Linked DNA regions of Homo sapiens: region 2 is linked to region 1. Evidence: promoter capture Hi-C in 16 types of primary human blood cells and fetal thymus (Javierre and others, 2016). All regions are on one chromosome and are shown on one strand. Each heading gives the region's core, a stretch centred on a gene start or on the middle of the fragment in contact. The rest is flanking DNA. Distances are from core to core; before and after follow the strand shown.

What was found. The method cuts DNA at HindIII sites, captures the fragments that hold promoters and counts their contacts. A CHiCAGO score of 5 or more calls a contact.
Region 2: a fragment that was not itself captured here is called in contact with the fragment with the promoter of NPIPB15 in region 1 in 1 of 17 cell types (total CD8 T cells); the score reaches 5.8 in total CD8 T cells.

Annotation. Positions count from the first base shown.
Region 1 is chr16:74,370,275-74,377,588 of GRCh38, reverse strand. It overlaps NPIPB15 (nuclear pore complex interacting protein family member B15), which reads right to left and starts at 1,283. Exons shown (of 8, transcript NM_001306094.2): 1 at 243-1,283. The HindIII fragment of the contact is 9,807 bases long and covers 1-5,350 here.
Region 2 is chr16:74,643,306-74,650,030 of GRCh38, reverse strand. It overlaps RFWD3 (ring finger and WD repeat domain 3), which reads left to right. Exons shown (of 13, transcript NM_018124.4): 4 at 829-899; 5 at 5,296-5,490; 6 at 5,578-5,669. Among named protein-coding and RNA genes, the nearest start is that of RFWD3, 20 kb to the left of the region's middle. The HindIII fragment of the contact is 4,265 bases long and covers 1,729-5,993 here.

The DNA.
Region 1 (7,314 bases), core at 34-2,533:
AGGCTTAGGAGCAATTAGAGGGAGACAAAAAGGTTCTGCTATCCACCAAACCTTCTTCGGTCTGGGCCCTCCCTTAGCAACCCTGGGGCTTTATACTCCCTCTCCACCAATCCCTGATGACCCCGGTGGTGCCTCACAATGGACAATGCCAAGTAGCGCCCGCATCATTCCAATGACCCCTCCCCCATCTCAGTCTCCCACACTCCTCGCAAGGACAGGTCCTCTCTGGAACCTTCACAAACCTGATTTCTGGTCCTCCCCAACCAGCTCCCTGTCCCTGCTTCTGGGCTCTCCTTCCTTCCTGAGCTCCCAGGGTTCCTCAAGGTCACTTTTGGCGACAAAACATAAAAAACAAATGATGGCAGGATGGCAGGAAGAACTTCATACCCAAGCAGAGTGCCAGGTTTTACAGCCTCCGCTCAGCCATTCATATCCTAAGCAACAAAACATCAGCAGGATGCGGAAGGTCCCGATAGTAAACCATCTCCATCACATCCATGTAGCCATCCGTCCATCAACCTGTATCTCAGGAACAAATGTAGATACATTCATTTTAAGCATGCATGGTACATTTACAAAAATTAACCTGACTTATTTTGTTCCAGCAAATCTCAATATATTTGAGAGCAATCAAATCACACAGCATGTTTCTGATCATATAACTGTGCTAGAAGTCAATGATTAAAAGCTAATTCAAAATTATTATTTGCTTGGAAATTCAAAGTGCCCTTATAAGACATAAACATAAGAAAGAATCCAAAATGAAACAAGATTGCCTTTCAACTCAATGATGAGATCATAACATGGCAATAAAATGTCTCCCCCTGGCCTGGGAATTCCTCTTTGTGGCACAAGGTTGTGTGATCTCAAATCACCCCTAACCCACCTAGACATTTTAACATCTGAAACCGAGTGATGATGTCCTTATCTATAATCATCTTACTGCCTGTGTGTGTGGACTTTAAATTCTGAACCCAAATGAGGGGGAGAAAACCAAGTTGACCTTCATCATTGACCTCTCAGGGACGTCCAAGGAATCTGTGCATTTCAAGAAACAAAGTTCATCAGCTTCTCTCCTAAGGTATTTGCCCACAATACCCAGAGGGCTTGGCAGCATCATGTGTGATGGGTGGGGAGCTCCAAGCAGGTGGGCAGGACCCAGGGGTCTGGTGACCAGGACAGACCCCCACTGTCCATCACCTTTCCTGGCCCTGTCCTCAGCTGAACTTCCCACAGGCCTTCTGCCCGATCACACAGAGTGTGCCCAAACTCACTCAGGCCTCTGGCAGCTGAAAACCACTGCTTTAAATCCCTTTACCATTTACTATGACATAAGGTTATTGTAAACAGGAAATATTCTATTGATGCTACAAATGGAAAGCCAATGCCTTTACCATAAATAGAAAAACAACCCTAAGAAACAAGCAAAACAAAAACAAAACAGGGGCTGGGTGTGGTGGCTCACGCCTGTAATCCCAGCACTTTGGGAGGCCGAGGTGGGTGGATCACAAGGTCAGGAGTTCCAGACCAGCCTGGCCAATATGGTGAAACCCTGTCTCTAATAAAATACAAAAATTAGCCGGGTGTGGTGGTGGGCGCCTTAGTCCCACCTACTTGGGAGGCTGAGGCAGGAGAATAGTTTGAACCCGGGAGGCAGAGTCTGCAGTGAGCCGAGATTGCACCACTGCACTCCAGCCTAGGCGACAGAGCGAGACTCAGTCTCAAAAACAGCAACAACTACAAACAAACAAAAAACAGGGTTAACAAAACTATGGAATTCAATTCTATTTATATGCTGCAGCCATGTTCCAGCCCTAGATTTGGCTGGGCATGGTGGCTCACGCCTGTAATCCCAGCACTTTGGGAGGCTGAGGCAGGCGGATCACGAGGTTAGGAGTTCGAGATCAGCCTGACCAACATGGTGAAACCCCGTCTCTACTAAAAATACAAAAATTAGCCAGGCACGGTGGCACCCGCCTGTAATCCCAGCTACTCAGGAGGCTGAGGCAGGACAATCCCTTGAACCCAGGAGGTGGAGGTTGCAGTGAGCCGAGATCGTGCCATTGCACTCCAGCCTGGGTGACAGAATGGAATGAGACTCTGTCTCAAAAAAAAAGAAGCCCTCGGATTTCGGTTGTGTTGGTTGTAAAAGGAGAGACCAAGTAAGTGGGGGTTGAAGTCAGATTAGACCAAAAGTGAATGGCAGAGAGTACTATAATGTCCATGAAGGGTTGCTAGAGTCACCGTGATCATAGCCCAAGCAGAGACAGGGAAAGGAAGATGTGAGCAGAGTTTGGGGCCTCAAACATTGGAGGTTACTCGTGCAGCCCAGGAAAGGCTCCCCAAAGCCAGGATCAACCTCCCTTGCAGGCGGTCCCTCATGGAGGCATGGCCAGGCACCTTAGATTTGAGACCAGCTGTGTTGCTGCTGACCAGCTGTGTGACCCTGGGCTGGTTTCCTTGCGTACAATGGGAGTGCCAATGGCTGCATGCATGCAAAGACCATCTGAGGATAGGAGGAAGCAATCTGTTGAGCACCCGTGTACCTGAGTGTCATCACCTCCCAAAGGCATCCTTCGTTCCAGAGCTGGCACCTTGGAAGGCCCTTGGTTACTAAATGCAGTGATGATGGTAACAGCAGTAAATCATCATTTACGGCTGATGACGGAAGGCCAGGGGGTAGGGCTCCTAGGTCCTGGATAAGAATGAGGGTCTGGGCACTTCTGGGGACAGCTGAGTGGTAGAACTCCTGGGTCTCCAGGGGGCAGGTCCATCTTCAGTGGCATTGGGCCTAGGCTGGGATGCTGAGTTATCCACTGGAGCATCAGCAGTACAGGCAGGCACAGAGGCAGTGGATCCATCGGAGGTGGCAGGTGTAGGATCATCTGGTGAGCAAGTAGAGTCACCAAGCCTGGCTTCTAGATATAAGAGAAGTTCCTGGGCCGGGTGCCACGGCTCAAGCCTGTAATCCCAGCACTTTGGGAGGCCGAGGCGGGTGGATCACGAGGTCAGGAGATCGAGACCATCCTGGCTAACACGGTGAAACCCCGTCTCTACTAAAACTACAGAAAAATTAGCCGGGCGTGGTAGCAGGCACCTGTAGTCGTAGCTACTCGGCAGGCTGAGGCAGGAGAATGGCGTGAACTCGGGAAGCGGAGCTGGCAGTGAGCCGAGATTGCGCCACTGCACTCCAGCCTGGGCGACAGAGGGAGACTCCGTTTCAAAAAAAAAAAAAAAAAAAAAAAACCAAAACAAAACCAAAAAAAGAATGTTCCAGAAAATTGCCATTTATTTATCTAATAGGTACTGTTAAGCTAGAATATTTGAATTTTGAAGAAAATAGTAGCCGAGCATGGTGGTGGGCACCCATGATTCCAGCTCCTTGGGAGGCTAAAGCAGAAGCATCACTTGACCCCAGGAATTCAAGACCAGCATGGGCAACATAGCGAGACCCTGTCTTTAAAAACTTTTTTTTTTTTTTTTGAGACAGAGTTAGCTCTTGTTGCCCAGGTTGGAATGCAGTGGCGTGATCTCAGTTCTGATCTCAGAGGCGGGCGGATCACAAGGTTTGGAGTTCGAGACCAGCCTGACCAATATGGTGAAACCCAGTCTCTACTAAACATACAAAAATTAGCGGGGCATGGTGGTGCATGCCTGTAATCCCAGCTACTCAGGAGGCTGAGGCAGGAGAATCACTTCAACCCGGGAGGCGGAGGTTGCAGTGAGCCAAGATCGCACCACTGCACTCCAGCCTGGGCGACAGACTGAGGCTCCATCTCAAAAAAAAAAAAAGATTGTTCTCGAAGTCAGGGCTGACAACCCTCTCAACCACAGCAGCGGTGGTAGGGACAGAGAGGTCCGAACAGAGGAGAGGCACTGAGGAGACAGACCCTTTGAGGCTGGGTGATGAGCAGGAGGTGGAGGGAGAGGCGAGTGGGGAGACCAGGTGAGTCCCAGGTTTCTGGTGTGGTTGGCCATTCCTGGAACTGGAAATAGAAGGGGCTGATTGAGAAGACAGGATGAAGACACTGTTGTAGACGTGAGCCTACGGGGTTCCCAGATGTAGCTGCTCCAGAATTAGTTGGATAAGCAGAATAAGACCATTGACTTGCAAGACTGCAGTGAGTGAAGATTTCCTTAAGAAGGCGTAGGCCCTGATTTCACCATTCTTATATAATTGCACTATCAGACAGCCTTTATTTGAGCTGCAAAAAAGGCTACCTAGTAAACCAGCCCAAAACTCAGTGCCTTACAACAAAGCATTCAGTGCCATGCTCATGAGACTGTAGGTGACTATGGTCTAGCTGGACAGCTGTGTTTCAAACTGAGAGTCAGTAGGCTTGGACAGCTTTGTTTCAAACTGAGGGTCAGCAGGCTTGGACAGCTTTGTTTCAGGCTGAGGGTCAGCAGGCTTGGCTTCAGGCTGAGTTCAGGTCTGTTTCAAGTGCCTTTCACTTTCCATGATCCAACAGCTACTCAGGGCATAAACTTGTGACAAGGGCTGATGACATGCTCAACACCTCTTAAGGCCAATCTCCAGATCTGTACACTATGGCTTCTACCCACCTTAAAAAATAAGTTTGGTTGGCCAGGTGCAATGGCTCACGCCTGTAATCCCAGCACGTTGGGAGGCCAAGGCGGGCGGATCACAAGGTCAAGAGATTGAGGCCATCCTGGCCAACATGGTGAAACCCTGTCTCAACTAAAAAAAATTTATATATACAAAAATTAGCTGGGTGTGGTGGCGTGCTCCTGTAGTACCAGCTAATCGGGAGGCTGAGGCAGAAGAATTGCTTGAACCCAGGAGGCAGAGGTTGCAGTGAGCCGAGATCGTGCCACTGCACTCCAGCCTAGCGACAGAGCAAGACTCCATCTCAAAATAATAATAATAATGTTTGACTGAAGCCAACCAACATCAGTGGGACAGGAATCCTACTCCCCCCATTTCGTGCACTGCAAGGTCACATGGCAATAGGGAATGAGGAATTGAAAACAACATCCCATCTACCATAGCTAGCTGCGTTCCTTCCTGTTACACTGCCTGCTTTTTTCTGTCTCTGTATCCAGCCCTTACATCACCCAGTCTCAGATGCTTTCCTGGCCACCTGTCCTATGGCATAGTGCAAAGATCATTAGATTCAGATATTCAACATGGGAAGAGCTCCATTTCTGGTCCTTCCTCCTAGGTGTGTGATCTTGGAAAAGTCATGTTACATCTGTGTCTACTCTATCTGCTAAAATTTACTTCATGAGATTGCCAGAAAGATTACGTGAGCTGATACAGAAGGAAAAATTTTGTCCTATGTATTTTCATTAAGACCCAGTGCAAGTCTTCCCTCTTAAAAAAGCTTTAAATGACTACCATTTCTTCCCAGGACTCTTAGTTAACATCCGGTGGCTTCTAGATATAAGAGAAGTTCCTGGGCCGGGTGCCGCGGCCCACGCCTGTAATCCCAGCACTTTGGGAGGCTGAGGCAGGCAGATCACGAGGTCAGGAGATCGAGACCATCCTGGCTAACACGGTGAAACCCCATCTCTACTAAAAATACAAAAAAATTAGCCGGGCATAGTGGTGGGCGCCTGTAGTCCCAGCTACTCGGGAGGCTGAGGCAGGAGAATGGCATGAACCCAGGAGACGGAGCTTGCAGCGAGCCGAGATGGTGCCACTGCACTCCAGCCTGGGTGACTGAGCGAGACTCCGTCTCAAAAAAAAAAAAAGAGAGAGAAGTTCCAGGCCGGGTGTAGTGGCTCATGCCTGTAATCCCAACACTCTGGGAGGCCGAGGCGAGCGGATCACAAGGTCAGGAGATCGAGACCATCCTGGCCAACATAGTGAAACCCCATCTCTATTAAAAATACAAAATTTAGCTGGGTGTGGTGGCACACGCCTGTAATCCCAGCTACTCAGGAGGCAGAGGCAGGAGAATCCCTTGAACCAGGGAGTTGGAGGTTGCAGTGAGCCGAGATCGCACTACAGCAGTCTAGCCTGGCGACACAGTGAGACTCCGTCTCAAAAAAAAAAAAGAAGTTCCTGGCTGGGCGCAGTGGATCAAGAGATCGAGACCATCCTGGCCAACATGGTGAAACCCTGTCTCTACTAAAAATACAAAAATTAGCTGGGCATGGTGGCATGCGCCTGTAGTCCCAGCTGCTCGGGAGGCTGATGCAGGAGAATGGCGTGAACCCGGGAGGCAGAGCTTGCAGTGAGCCAAGATCGCGCCACCGTACTCCAGCCTGGGTGACAAAGCAAGACTCTGTCTCACAAAAAAAAAAAAAAAAAAAAAAAGTACTGATTGTTACTCGCAACATTCTTCTCTTCCCATGGTGTGAATGAGAACATCCCTGCTTTCCACACAAACACAGGCTCTCAAGCACACGAGAAGCATGCCAGGTGTCAGGTCCTTTCTGTGAAGTCGGTTGTAGGCAGATGTCCAGTCTACTGATGGCGACAAGAACTTCAGAGGGAGGAGGGAGGCCTTCCCCACAGCCATGCCGGTGCTGGAGGGAGGTAAGATAAACGCCTGCATCTTAGCGACCTCAGATCCAAATTCATTCTTACACTGTGGTAACATAGGTATGTCAAATGTTTGTCTGTACACTGTTTATCCTGTGTGGTAGCAAACACATTTACCAAGTCACTGCAGATGAATATTTCACAAGAGGACTTGACAAGCGTAATTAAAACGTCTGTTTAGGGCAGGACGTGGTGGCTCATGCCTCTAATCCCAGCACATTGGGAGGCCAAGGCAGGTGGATCTCTTGAGGTCAGGAGTTTAATGCCAGCCTCAGCAACATAGTGAAACCCCACCTCTACCAAAAAATACAAAAGTTAGCTGGGGACGGTGGAACACGCCTGAGGTCTCAGCTATTCGGGAGGCTGAGGTGGGAGAATCGCTAGAGCCCAGGAAGTTAAGACTGCAGTGAGCCGTGATTGCACCACTGTGCTCCAGCCTGGGTGACAGAGTGAGAGCTAATCTCAAAAAATAAAAATAGGCTGGACGCGGTGGCTCACACCTGTAATTCCAGCACTTTGGGAGGCCTAGGTGGGCGGATCATGAGGTCAGGAGTTTGGGACCAGCCTGGCCAACATAGTGAAACCCTGTCTCTAATAAAAATACAAAAATTAGCCCAGCGTGGTGGCGCACGCCTGTACAGTCCCAGCTACTGGGGAGGCTGAGGTAGGAGAATCGCCTGAACCTGGGAGGCAGAGGTTGCAGTGAACCGAGACCACGCCATTGCACTCCAGCCTGGGCAACAGAGTGAGCCTCCATCTAAAAAATAATAATAAAATAAAAACACTCAACCCCCTAGAAA
Region 2 (6,725 bases), core at 2,612-5,111, 270 kb before region 1:
ATGCAAATGTGGATTGACTCTAAATGGGCATAAAGGATCTTTGTGGGCTGATAGAAATATTTTAAATTGGGTTATGGTGGTGGTTGCACAATGCTCAATTTATTATATATAAAAGTTAATTTCATGAAGAAGCAGTCAGCCAAATCCAGGATGTGTAGGACATTTCATTAGACAAATGACCTGACAAATCAATGACAAACAGAGGGGAAAAAAATGGGTGAGGGGGAATTGTAATAAAATGAAAAAGACTTAAGAGACATCACAAGCTCATTATGGAGACTTTTTTTGGATTCTGATTGCAATAAATCTGCAAAGAGCAGCTTTAAAACTATTGGGAAATTTTGAATATGAACTGGATGCCTGGATATTTAGTGGTATTGGAGGATTATTGTTAATATTGTTAGGTATAATAATTACACAGTGTTTATATAAAAAAAGAATTCTTATCAGTGTTGCAGAAGTTTTTGCAAGTATAATGACATTTTAAGGTTTGTTAAGTATTCCAACCAAAAGAAAATAATGGAATGGGGGCTTAGGTGGAACAAGATTGGCAAAATATTGATTATTTTTTAAATTGAGTGATGGGTACTTGTGGCTTAACTATACTGTTCTGTGTACTTTTATGTATGTTTGAGAATATTCAAACTAAATTTTTAAAAATAAATTCACTGATGGTACCTGGGGAAGTTGTCATCCTTTTTGCAGGAACACTGTCAGTTAGAAATGGGAAGCTGTAGTGAGTCAGGCTCTCTCCTGCTAGCTTCTCATACCTGACATATCTTATTTTGTATTTTACCTCTCCTGTCATTTCTGGAAATGACTTGGCAGAGCAACTAGCAGGTGTCTCAGCAGAGCAAGAAGTTACATGTATCGATGGAGGCAAGACCCTCCCCAAACAGGTAATATGAACATCATTTTAAAAAAATCTATTTATTTATTTATTTATTTTTAGAGACTAGGTCTCACTCTCACCCAGGCTAGAGTGCAGTGGTGCAGTCATAACTCACTGCAGTTTCAAACTCCTGGGCTCAAAGGATCCTCCCACTTCAGCCTCCTGAATAGCTGGAACTACAGGTAATGCCACCACACTCGGCTACATTTTTTATTTTTTGTAGACAGAGTCTCACTATATTACCCAGTTGGTTTCGAACTCCTGGGCTCAAGGTATCGTCCTGCCTCGGCCTCCCAAACCATTGAGATTGTAGTCATGAGCCACCATGCCCAACCTGAATATCCCCTTTTTTTTCTTTTTTTTTGAGACGGAGTCTCACTCTGTTGCCCAGGGTGGAGTGCGGTGGTGCGATCTCAGCTCACCACAATAACCTCTGCCTCCCGTGTTTAAGCAATTCTCCTACCTCAGCCTCCCGAGCAGCTGGGACTACAGGCACACGCCACCCCGCCCAGCTAATTTTTGTCTTTTAAGTTAGAGACGGGGTTTCACCATACTGGCCAGGCTGGTCTCAAACTCCTGACCTTGTGATCCACCCACCTCGGCCTCCCAAAGTGCTGGGATTATAGGTGTGAGCCACCGTTCCTGGCCTCTGAATATCCTTTTAAATAAAAGGTTTGGGTTTTTGGCTGGGCACGGTGGCTTACACCTGTAATCCCAGCACTTTGGGAGGCCAAGGCGGGTGGATCACCTGAAGTAGGGAGTTTGAGACCAGCCTGGCCAACATGGTGAAACCTAGTCTCTAACCAAAGTGGGGCTGCAGGTTAAAATGGGAAGCTTGCAGGCTTTGTAGGCAAGAGGTCCAGGTGTGGATCCTATCCCAGTTACTCATTATTTGTGTGACTGCTGTCTCTTAGATTTAAAAATGGGGAGGGAGGAGTATTGAGGATAACCTGTCCTGTCTAGCCAACAAGGTTAAGTATCAGTTGAAAAAATAGACATAAATGTGCTTTATAAATTATTAAGCACATTCGCCAGGTGTGGTGGCATGCGCCTATAGTCCTAGCTACTTAGGGAGTCTGAGACAGGATTACTTGAGCCTGGGAGGTCAAGGCTTCAGTGAGCCATGATTGCACCACTGCACTCCATGGCAGCAGAGTGAGACCCTGTCTCAATAAAAAAATTAAAATTAAAAAAAAATCAGGCAGAATATGGTTAGTAGGTGATAATTTTTATTTTTAAAAATAATGGGCTGGGCGCGGTGGCCCATGCCTATAATCCCAGCACTGTTGGAGGCCAAGGCGGGCGGATCACCTGAGGTCAGGAGTTCAAGACCAGCCTGGCCAACATGGCGAAACCCCATCCCTAGTAAAAATGCAAAGATTAGCTGGGTATGTTGGCAGGCGCATATAATCCCAGCTACTCAGGAGGCTGAGATAGGAGAATCGCTTGAACCTGGGAGGCAGAAGTTGCAGTGAGCCCAAATAGCGTCACTGCGCTCTAGCTTGGGAGACGGAGCACGACTTCATCTCAAAGAATAGTAATAATAATGTTGGCCGGGCGCAGTGGCTCACACCTGTAATCCCAGCACTGTGGGAAGTCAAGGTGGGTGAGTCACCTGAGCACAGGAGTTTGAGACCAGCCTGGCCAACAGGGTGAAACCCCATCTCTACTAAAAATACAAAAATTAGCCGGATATGGTGGTGCGTGCCTATAGTCCCAGCTACTCGGGAAGCTGAGGCAGGAGAGTCACTTGAATCTGAGAGGCGGAGGTTGTGGTGAGCCGAGATTGTGCCATTGCACTCCAGCCTGGGTAACAGACCAAGACTCCATGTCAAAAAAAAAATAAAAATAACACCTATACATCATTGTCCTCAGTATGAGTAATTTACATCTGCTGTGAATTCTTCCAATGTCAAAACATCATTTAACATTTTTTGCATATTTCTATGTGCTCTTTGTGTTTTTATTTGAGTCTGGCTCATTTTTCCCAGCTTAGTACATCTTGGAGAGCTTTCTGTTATCAGTACATAAAATTGAATCTTTTTTTTTTTTTGAGACGAGTGTCGCTCTGTCACCCAGGCTGGAGTGCAGTGGCATGATCTCGGCTCACTGCAGGCTCCGCCTCCCAGGTTCACACCATTCTCCTGCCTCAGCCTCCCGGTAGCTGGGACTACAGGCGCCTGCCACCACACCTGGCTAATTTTGTTGTTGTTGTTGTTGTTGTTGTTGTTGTTGAGACGGGGTTTCACCGTGTTAGCCAGGATGGTCTTGATCTCCTGACCTGGTGATCCGCCCGCTTCGGGCTCCCAAAGTGCTGGGATTACAGGCGTGAGCCACCATGCCTGGTCTCATCTTGTTCTTATTAATAGCTACGTGGCATTCCATCATACAAATAAATTTTGAGTTAATTCTTTTCTTTCCACCTCCTGAGTTCAAGCGATTCCCCTGCCTCAGTCTCCCGAGTAGCTGGAACTACAGGCACACGCCGTCATGCCTGGCTAATTTTTTGTATTTTAGTAGAGACGAGGTTTCACCATGTCAGCCAGGATGGTCTCGATCTCCTGACTTCATGATCCGCCTGCCTTGGCCTCCCAAAGTGCTAGGATTACAGGTGTGAGCCACTGCGCCCAGCGAATTAATTCTTTTTCTTATCATGTAAAGCATGGTTGGTGTATGGTGGCACACGCCTGTGTTGTCTCAACTACTTGGGAGGGTAATAATATTTTTTTTCTTTATATAAATCATGCTACACTGAACTTTTTTGAGACAGGGTCTCATTCTGTCCCTCATGCTGGAGTGCAGTGGCACAATCATAGCTCACTGCAGCCTCAATATCCCGGGCTCAGGTGATGCTTCTACCTCAGCCTCCTGACTACTTGGGACTGCAGGCATGTGCCACCACACATGGCTAATTTTTTAAATTTTTAACAGGGACAAGGTCTTGCTATGTTGTCCAGTCTGGTTTCAAACTCCTGAGCTCAAGGAATCCTCCTGCCTTGGCCTCCCAATAAGCTGGGACTGTAGGTGTGATTACTACACCTGGCCTGCTTGGAACAATCTTATATAATTATCTTAGAATATATTTGTGACTGGCTGGGCATGGTGGCTCACGTCTGTAATCCCTGCACTTTGGGAGGCCAAGGCGGACGGATCGCGAGGTCAGGAGATCGAGACCATCCTAACTAACACGGTGAAACCCCGTCTCTACTAAAAATACACAAAATCGGGCTTGGTGGCAGGCGCCTGTAGTCCCAGCTACTCAGGAGGCTGAGGCAAGAGAATGGTGTGAACCCAGGAGGCGGAACTTGCAGTGAGCCGAGATTCTGCCGCTACACTCCAGCCTGGGCGACAGAGCGAGAGTCTGTCTCAAAAAAAAAAAAAAAAAAAAAAAAAGAAAATATTTGTGACTATGATCATGGGCTGCATAATAGTTCAGTCTATGACAGACCACATGTATGATGGTTGTCCCATTAGATGATAATACCAGGCTGGGCGCAGTGGCTCACACTTATAATCCCAGCACTTTGGGAGACCAAGGCGGGCGGATCACTTGAGGTCAGGAGTTCGGGACCAGCCCGGCCAACATGGTGAAACCCACCACTGTGCTACAGTTGCCTACAGTATTTGGTACAGTAACATCCTATACAGGTTTGTTGTCTAAGTATGTAATAGTTTACACCGTCTAGGTTTATTTAAGTACCTCTGGGATCATTCAATGACGAAATCGCCTAAAGACGCATTTCTCAGAATGTATTCCCATTGTCAAGCAATGCATGACTATATATCCATGAGGTATCTCTAGCAGAGAGATTGCTATGCCAAAGGAAAGATATATGTGTTTTAATTTTCATGGATAATGCCAAATGGTGCTCCAGAAATGTGTGCCACTTTACATTTAAGGCAACAGTATATAAGCATGTCCATATCTCATTTACCCACAACAGTGCTTGGTGTCATCAGACATCAATTTATACCAGTCTGATAGATGAAAAATGGTCTCTTTAATTTGCATTTCTTTAATTATAAGCAAACACTTATTGACCATTGTGTTTTCTTGTAAGCATTTGTATCCTTTGTTTTCTTTTTTTGCCCTCTGGTACACATGAGTTAAATATTTTATAGCTGCTATTCTTTATATGGATAGCTGCTTTTCTTCCTTTGAGTGAAGGAAAAAGTATCCAAGAATTTTATAAGATTTAAGAGTAGTATAGTTTTCATAGCTTATATTTTGTGACATTGCATTCTAGAAAGAATGACAAGTGATTCATAGGTGTTACAAGTGTTCTGTAGCCCTTTTGATTGTATCATTTTTTTTGCACTTCTGTTAATTTCTTAGTTGCACATCTTCTTCAAGATTGATTTTACATTTTCTCTAATTTGAATATATTCTGCTTTCCATCTAGCCATCTCCCCAGAAGTCTGAGCCTCTGCTACCTTCTGCTTCTATGGATGAGGAAGAAGGGGACACTTGTACAATATGTCTGGAACAGTGGACCAATGCTGGGGACCACCGGCTCTCAGCATTACGCTGTGGGCATCTCTTTGGGTATAGGTGCATTTCCACGTGGCTTAAAGGACAAGTACGAAAATGTCCCCAGGTAAGGACCATAGGTAAGGACACATTAACATGTTAAGTCAGGCAGATTCCTAGAACCACTCTAATTATGTCCTATTGGGTTCTTTAGTGCAACAAGAAAGCCAGGCACAGTGACATTGTCGTCCTTTATGCCCGAACCCTGAGAGCTTTGGACACTAGTGAACAGGAGCGCATGAAAAGGTAGGTGGTAAGAGTATGCCTGGCTGGAATGTTCCCTTTTGGTTCATTGTAGGCACATCTGAAAAAGAAGTTATGAGTCACTCGTAGTGAGGTTTTACTTGACCTGTGACTTGGGATCTCTGGGGATCATTGGCAGTCTGTCTTACACTGTTATTTATAATTCATGTCTGATCATCTTCTTAAGGAAGTCTGCATCGTTTGCCTTATGTAGAGCATTAAACACAAGGATCTGGCACATTACTTCTGTTGCCATTTTTGCTTCTCATATCCCTGACCACCCCCCGCCACAGCAGTTCTCCATACAGAAAACTCATAAGTGAAGCTTTGCACATGCAGTGCAATGTAAAAAATTACCAGGATTTCGGAAGCACAAAACAGTTGCTAGGGCCGGGCATGGTGGCTCACGCCTGTAATCCCAGCACTTTGGGAGGCCAAGGTGGGCAGATCACAAGGTCAGGAGATCAAGACCATCCTGGCTAACACGGTGAAACCCCGTCTCTACTAAAAAATACAAAAAAATTAGCCGGGCATAGTGGCGGACGCCTGTAATCCCAGCTACTGAGGAGGCTGAGACAGGAGAATGGCGTGAACCCGTGAGGCAGAGCTTGCAGTGAGCCGAAATTGCACCACTGCACTCCAGCCTGGGCGACAGAGCAAGACTCCGTCTCAAAAAAAAAAAAAAAAAAAAAAAACAGTTGCTAGTAACACCACTCAGTATATGCTTCAAAAATATTAAAGAACATACACACCATTGAGAGAGAGGTACAGTGACATGGGTTCACACTTTACTGGTTTGGATGTACACAGGCAAAATCATTTTGAGACATCCTTGGAAATGTGTCTCTAAAGCCTTTGATCTAGTAATTGTTCAGGCATTCTAAAGAAACATTGAAGGCTGTGTACCAAGATTTACTTAATGAAACTTCATTTAGCATTGTTAAAAATCTAAGGCAAGGGGATTGCTTAGTTGAATGAACGGTGGTGTATGCATGAACAGAATACAATGTTGAAATGTGCATATGTTGTCCTGTGGAAGCATGTTATTAGTATGATTGC